Linked DNA regions of Homo sapiens: region 2 is linked to region 1. The links are contacts of gene promoters, found by promoter capture Hi-C in human tissues and cell types (Jung and others, 2019). All regions are on one chromosome and are shown on one strand. The core of a region is centred on a gene start or on the middle of the fragment in contact, and the rest is flanking DNA. Distances in the headings are between cores, read along the strand shown.

The links. The method cuts DNA at HindIII sites, captures the fragments that hold promoters and counts their contacts. A contact is called where the count stands out against the background at its distance.
Region 2: a fragment that was not itself captured here is called in contact with the fragment with the promoter of LAMA2 in region 1 in 1 of the 25 tissues and cell types used here (heart left ventricle).

What each region holds. Positions count from the first base shown.
Region 1 is chr6:128,881,004-128,885,108 of GRCh38, forward strand. LAMA2 (laminin subunit alpha 2) reads left to right here and starts at 2,135. Exons shown (of 65, transcript NM_000426.4): 1 at 2,135-2,354. The coding sequence starts at 2,243. The HindIII fragment of the contact is 5,954 bases long and covers 1-4,105 here.
Region 2 is chr6:129,261,345-129,265,287 of GRCh38, forward strand. The region is part of intron 15 of LAMA2 (laminin subunit alpha 2); the gene reads left to right. Among named protein-coding and RNA genes, the nearest start is that of LAMA2, 380 kb to the left of the region's middle. The HindIII fragment of the contact is 4,785 bases long and covers 1-3,803 here.

The DNA of each region.
Region 1 (4,105 bases), core at 885-3,384:
AGTTGACAGTGGAGATCATAGTCTTATTCTCAAGGCATTTTCATGTAAAATAGGAACTCAGGTAACTGCAGTAACTGCAGAAAAGCAGGTACAAATATTGATTATAAAATCCTGGGAAAATGTAAAGAGGAAGGGGATAGAGGGAACATGGTATATTTTCATTCCACAATTAGAGTTAGCAGCTGCATCATTCTGATTTTCCTTTTTATAAATATTTTTTATTATTTATTAGATTAACTAATTTGAGTTGAGGCCACAACATGGTTGAGTAAAAATAATCATTTTCCTTTTTATAAATATTCAATAAAACTTTTCCTTTTTATAAATATTTTTTATTATTTATTAGATTAACTAATTTGAGTTGAGGCCACAACGTGGTTGAGTAAAAATAATCATTCTGAGAATAGCAATAGGTTTAGAAGGTTAATTTAGGGTGCCTCTCTGCTATTAGATGTACCTGAAAAACACTTCTAGGCAAAATTAGACCAAATTAAAAACACTGGGGCTTCAATTATAATAAACTCTCAAATATAAGTTTTATTATTGTTTATTATAATAATAAATAATGTATAAGTGTGCAGACATGGGCAGACTACATTTTGCAAATTTCCACAGTAAGGTAAAAGGATTACAAAGCTTTCTGGTATAATATTAACAGAACTAAAAGACATGAATAATATTAAAGAATGGGCTTTGGCTAGTGATTTTCAATCAATTCTCTTCAAAGCAATACTCTCTTAATTTTACTGAAAGAAAATTCAACTTTAATATAATATTTAGATAAATCAATACATCTTAACTATAAAAAAGAAAACTATCTATATAAGACAATATGTATTTCAACATATAAATGCTTGGGTAAAACTTCCTTAGGAGGCAAAATAAAATAAAAGTTTGCACCTATTCTTAGATGACCCCAGTGTAATCGATGGGATGTTGATATTGTGCTGGTGACTCAAGTACCATGGGCAAGGTTGTTATCAGTGATGTGCTTCTCTGAAAGTACATCTTTACACCCATTGACAAATGGGTGTAAAATCCAAAAACACAAAGTAAATTATCTTCTCAATGTATATAGTAGATGCATCCTAGAAAAAAACAAACAAACAAACAAAAAACACACACAAAAATTTGATGTGGAAACAAACTTAAATTAGGTTTCAAATATAAGGCAAGGTTTTGTTGTTTTGTTTGTTTGTTTACTCACTACATAAATGACCAGTGGCCCATTCAGAAGTCTAAGGACAAAATATGTTGTAGGACTGTCCTGACCACTGAGGGACAGCTCACACCCTGACCCAACAGTACACTAATGCCTGCAGTACCCACCGTTCCCGGAGTAAACCAAAAGACATCCTGCGACTCACAAAATCCATTATGGAGTTGTTTTAAACCTTATGAGAACCACTGACCTAGGCCATAAAAAACAAATGAAAAAACAACAAAAACTAGGAATGGCAGTAGTTCTGTTGAGTTAAAGAGGAGAAAGAGGAGAAACCAGGACTGGAAGAGATGAAATTGTGAGTCTGGAAGGAAACTATTGCAAAGGCCTTTATTACCTTTAAGTAAATGTCTCCTAACTGAACTGAAAGCCTTCATTCTAACCATTAGTTTGGTCAGGAACATTTCAGGGACGCCAGGGTGGCTGTTTTATTTTGCACTTCCTTTACTGCCCTCCCAGCAGCCTACCTAGCAGTAAGTTCCCCAGCCTGCAGTGTCCCCAGAGGGCACCTTCCCTCGGCTAGTAACTTCTCAGACACTCTGGCCTTGGGGATGTCTTGGATCTTCTAGGTACACAGTGGCTGCACACAGTTTTGCCAGGCCTTTCTCAAGAGGTAAAAGTTCCTAGCTGTTTGCATTTCCCAGAAATAATGTTTTCCATGTGTAGGGATTTTACAGATTTCAAAGTGCTTTCATGTCAATTACTTTCTTTAATTTAAAAGAAGTTCAGATACCAGGTCAAGCTAGGAATGATCCGGTCTCAGAGGGAAGGAGCGCTCTAGGAAAGGAGGATCCTTTAATAGAGGGCCGTCCTGGGGCCGCGTGCCCATGGAAGGCGAGAGTGGAGGAGTGTCCTCTTTCTCCCCCACCCTCAGGCGGCGGCCCGGCCAAAGCCAGAGGGGGCTGTCTCCTCCTCTTCCCCAGCAGCTGCTGCTCGCTCAGCTCACAAGCCAAGGCCAGGGGACAGGGCGGCAGCGACTCCTCTGGCTCCCGAGAAGTGGATCCGGTCGCGGCCACTACGATGCCGGGAGCCGCCGGGGTCCTCCTCCTTCTGCTGCTCTCCGGAGGCCTCGGGGGCGTACAGGCGCAGCGGCCGCAGCAGCAGCGGCAGTCACAGGCACATCAGCAAAGAGGTACAGTCGAGGCATGGGCTTGGGTTGCATCCTTTGCCGGGACCGAGATTCCTCACTTCTTCCACTCTTCCGAGAGTTGCTGTCTGTGGACTGCCGTCTTGCTTCGCCTTCAGAGAGTGCGCTCTGGGGCAAGAGGAACTTGAAGCAAGTTCAAGTTCAATGCCATGAGAGCGTAGTGTAGGGGGAATTACCTAAGTCCTGCAAAAGGAACGGGGAGTGCTTTTCATTGTTCTTTAGTTTCGAAGAGGTCTTGCTATCACGATACATCCCGTAAATTGATTTCTGAAATCTTTCCAAGAGGAAAACTTTTTCCAATTGGAAAAAAAAGAATTTCTTCAAATCAGAGCCCATCCTGCAGAGAAAGGCTTCCCAAGCTGTGTGGTTCATCCTGGGACTTTATGGAGGGTAGCTGATGCATCAAAAAAAAATTATATATATATATATACACACACACACACACACACACACACACACACACATATATATATATATAAAGTTTTACAGAACTTTGTTTTCAACTTTTAAAACAGGATTTCTAAAGAAGTTATGTGGTTTTTTTTCTTTCATGGCAATGGCGCCTCCAGCCTCACCTTTTTCAAACCCACATCTTATCTTCATATCCTATTTTATTGTAGTGAAATCGTGAAATTTCTCCTTTTGCTTAAATACAGAGGAGACTTCTATGTCATGTGTACTTTAAGGCCACAGTGACTAGATATACACTTTGGAGGACTTTGGAAGATGGCTGTATTTAATGTAACTTAAATAACTTATTCTCCTCAGAGCCTCTTAGTGTTTATGTATATATAGCTCTCATTTCTGAAACTTTGGGGAGTCTTTGAAGAGTTATTTTATTATCATGAATTTTACAGGAAGCACATGTGCAGCATTGTAAGACATACTTTGTAACACATTATTTCAGCAAACAATTCTTTAAGTTGGAAAACCTGTATCAAAGTAAAAAAAAAAGAAATATTTATTATTCGGTTTTAAATATGAAAATGTTTAACCTAAGAGTACAAAATCTGTAGGTTAGAAGCTTTTAAAAGTTTTAATGAGGCTGAATCTGCTTAAGTTTTGAAGTATACTTATCCTTCTTCCAGTTAACTTCTAGCCAAGTCAATAGTTCTGATATTTGTTCTTATAATCTAGCATTTTTAGCAGTACTATTTTTTAAGGAGTAAAGAGATATCCCAAGCTCTTTCTATAATAATAACTCCCTGATTAAAATTCTTGGAATAAAAATGACCTTGCATTCACTATATAACTTTTTTCCTTCTATTTTTGCTTTTGCTTCTCTGAGAGGTAAAATGGGGCCAATATGACTTAATTAATATAATTTACGAGAGTGATTTTAAGAGTATCTCTGGCCACTTATTTTTAAAAATTCTACTTTTAACTATTAAACTTTGCTCAATTACAAGGTGTGTTTAAACAAGACATAATACTTTAATAATGTTAGGCAGCTGGGAGAAATGAGGGGCCAGGGGCACCAATCCTTATGTCCACTTGGAATGGGGCAGAAACTCAAAGCATGCAGAGTAAGGATCAAGTAAATTGTTGCTAAGAATTATCCTGAACACACACAGGATTTCTCTTTTTTCCTCTCCCTTCTTATTTACTCTCTTTTCAAATAAGGTAATATTAACTCTGATTTCTATGACCCAGGCACAAGATGAAGTGAATTCAGGAGGAAGGGTTTATACTACCATTCTGTCAAGATACCACTTAAATGCTACATACAATAAGGA
Region 2 (3,943 bases), core at 161-2,660, 380 kb after region 1:
TTGATTTGTTTAGCACCTAATGTTTGAGATATTTATTGTTGTCTCAATATCCTAGATTTATAATAAGATTAATGGTTCTTACTTAATACCGCAGTGTGTCATCCTAAGGTAACAATTTTTATTTGCTTCTGTGTATTTTCTTTTACACAGAAAACTGGTGTGAAACTGGTTTTACTTGAAACCTGGTCAAAAAATGTGAACACTATTTCCTTGACAGAGCGCATGGCTAGCAGATAAATAGGAGCTTAGTTTCTTTAAAATGGTGCCTTTAAGGAATCATTTGAGTGTACTGAGATGTTCCACTTCAGAACACTACCTCATTATGCCATTTATAGAAATACTCTAGGCATTGCTTTGTCAGTTCTCTCGTACTTTTAAAATAATGCATACATCTAGAGATACGCATTATAGTCATATTCATGACAGCTGTGTTTCCTTTAACTGAGCTCAGATTCACCTTTCTAGAAATAAAACTAGATATAACTTATAGAAGTACTTGCTTTTCCAAAATTCATGTAGATGAGAGAAAAATAATTATGGATATCAATTAGCTATGTCAACCCAAATTTGATTTTACATATAAAATACACAATGTATTTGATGAAACAAGAGCCTTTTGCTCTTGATTCCAAACTATTTGAACTTTTAAGATCCTCTCTCAATTGGCATAATAAATAACTTAATTCTACTCTTGTTTTAAGGCTTGTTTCCACATACTTTGTTCTCATCCTTTGCATTATCTTTTATACAAATTCTAAGTGCCCACTGAATATAAAATTACTTGAATATTACAATTGCTTAATTGGCTATGCTTTTAGTCTCTTCCTTCTCTCCTTCAAAAATATTTTCAATACATTCTAGATATGTTTGATAAATTCTGTAAATTTACCTGTATAAATTATTAATAAGTACATACAACATAATCCCTGTCCTATCTGTTTAGGGAGACAATAAATATCTATGAAAAATGGGATCTCAGCACTGTATAATTAAGGGAGAGGTATGTGCTACAGAACATACATGCAATAATCATTCAAAGGGATGAGCTACTGCAGTGGAGAGAGATGCAAAGTGTCCTGGAGTGGAGAAATCTTAAATTGGATGCTAAATAATGGTAACAGATAGATAGAAGCATTTGAGTGTGAAAAAAAAAGGAGAGATAATAAAAGCTTCCTGTATCTGTCACACAATAATTGTTTGATAAATAAAATTACTTTGTAATCCATAAAAGAACTTAATTGAATCAAGAGACAATGAATTTTGGAACTTTGGATTTTCTCTCTGACTTCTTCATTTCTTCTACTCTCTAAAATTCATTTTTTCCTTATCAAAACTTTCTGTCCCTAAATTCACTATTATTCAGTCCTATCCTTTCATTATTTCATTTGCTTTTCAATTAAGTGTAGTTTGTAAGGCCAGTCATTCTAGCCTTGTTATCACTAATATCCTGGGATCCCTTAAAAGCTGAGTAAACGCCAAAGACCATTAATGTCTTAATTCCAGCTTGCTGAGAACCTCTGGCCAAAAAAGGATCAAATGACTCCATTGTAGACATTCTCTTTTACTTCATTTGGGGCCATAGTGTTGATTCAGGATCTTTTTTCTCATTTCTACTTGACTTCTTGTGAAGTGTTCTGCAGTTAAATCTTTCAAAAATTTTCTTACTTTCATAGTGCTGTCATCATAGATTTCACTTGACAGATGAGACAGGGGATATACTATTAAAAAGAGTGTTATGCAATCTCAGTTTCTTCTTCCATGAAATGAAAATAATATTAACCACCTCATAGAATTGTTTGTTTGTTCGTACTTTCATTTAGCTGACTAGTATTTGATGAGCGTGTATTTTGAGACAAACAAGACCCTACACAGGGAAAATAGTGCCATTAACAATACAGATATTGTCCCTGTCCCCAAGGACGTTGCACTGAGTGGTGGCATTAACGATATGCCAGAAAGCAAATAGAAATAAACGTGACAAATTCTATGAAGGAAATAAACAGGGTGAAATAAACAGGGTTCTATGATAAAGTTACTGCAAGTGGTTGTATGAAGGTTAGAAAGTCTACTTTGTAAAAGTTTGTCAGGAAAGGCTTCCTGAGGTGGTGACAGCTAAATCGAGTGTTGAAGAATGAGAGGGACAACGATGTAAAACCAGCTGCTAAGGAAGCAGCATAGATCGTGGAGTCTGTAAGGACTGGAAAGAAGGAGCGTGGCTGGAGCCTTGTAAGCAAGGGGAAAAGTGGGACAAGAAGTGATTGGAAAAGCAAGGCCATGAGGAGATTTGCACATATGATAAGAAATGAGCATTTTATTCTCATGGCATGGAACATCATTACAAGCCTTTCAGCAGAGTAGTGGAGTAGTGTAATCTGATTTACATTTTTGGGTTTTGGGGTGTTTTTTGTTGTTTGAGACAGGGTCTTGCTCTGTCACCTAGGCTGGAGTGCAGTGATGCTGTCATAGCTTGCTGCAGCCTCAAACTCCTGAGCTCAAGTGATCCTCCTGCCTCAGCCTCCTGAGTAGCTGGGACTACAGGTGTATACCACCATGCCCAGCTATTTTTTTTTGTTTGTTTTAATAGAGACAAGATCTCAATATGTTGCACAGGCTGATCTCGAACTCCTGAGCTCAAGCAATCCTCCCACCTCAGCCTCCCAAAGTTCTGGGGTTACAGGCATGGGCCAACGCACCCAGCCTGAGTTACATTTTTTTGAAGAAGGCATTATGGCTACAGTAGGAAGAATGTGTCTTAGGAGGGCATGAATAATAGGAAGGAGAAGGGTTAATATGTAGTTGCAGTGGAACACAGCAATGACAGTAGTTGCTGTTAGGATCATGGCAGGGAATATAAAAAGAGTTAGCATATTCTATATATATTTTGATAGTAGAACAAATAGGACTTACTGATTCGAGACTGTATGTCAGGGGAGAGATTAAAGAAATAAAGAGTTTAAGAATGAGTCATAGATGACCAGTTTGAATGATTGATCAGTTGGTTGTGGTGTCATTTACTGAGCTGAGGAATAGTTGGTGTGTGTGGGGGGGTGGGGGCATGGAATCCATAGTCCAGTTTAGAAATTTTCGATTTGAAAACGCTGTGAAGTGTAAATGTCAATGTGTATTTATAATATTCAGGTCTTAAATTCAGCATGTCTGTCTGGTCTAGAGATATGTTTTTGGAAGGCGTCATAAACTATGGAACTGAATAAAATTACCCAGGAGAAAGTGCAATTGATTTAAAAAAGAGAGAAAAATAGCCCAGCCCAAGCCCTGAGGAGCTCCTGACGTTAAGAAGCAGGGTCAAAGCAGAGGAGACAGCAAAGAAATATGCTAGAAATTTGGGAAGTGTGATGTCATGAAGTTGAGAAAAGAAATTGTGGGAGGAAAAGGAGTCAGCTAGGCCCAAGGCTGATGAAAGGTTGGATAAAATGCAATTGCAGAATTGTCCATCGAATTTGGCTGCATGGAATTTGGTGACAAGGACAAGAGCAGTTTTAATTGAGAGGTGGTGACACAAAACAGATTAGAATGGAATGAAGTGTGAAAAAGAGGTGAGGAATATAATACTTGTTAAGAGTAGTGTTACTGAAAAGAAAAACATAGATGACTAGAAAAGTTATATGAGGCTAAGAGGACAGTTTTGTCATTTGTGTTTTGTTTATTTTTGATGGAGACACTAGATCATATTTTTTTGTGCTGATAGTAATGACCCAGTAGAAGGGAAAGTTATTACTAATCCATCAGAGAGAGTGAATATTGAGAAGATAACAGATGCTGGAATCAGATGACAAGTGGAGTAATATTTCTTTAGGAGGAAGGACCCCACATTCCCCACATCACTTGTTTGGAATGGGAATATGGCAACAAGGTTTGGAGATATATGCTTAGATCTCTGGACTTGTTAGTGCAAAGGCAGCTTTAATTTTTTTCTGTGAGTAAT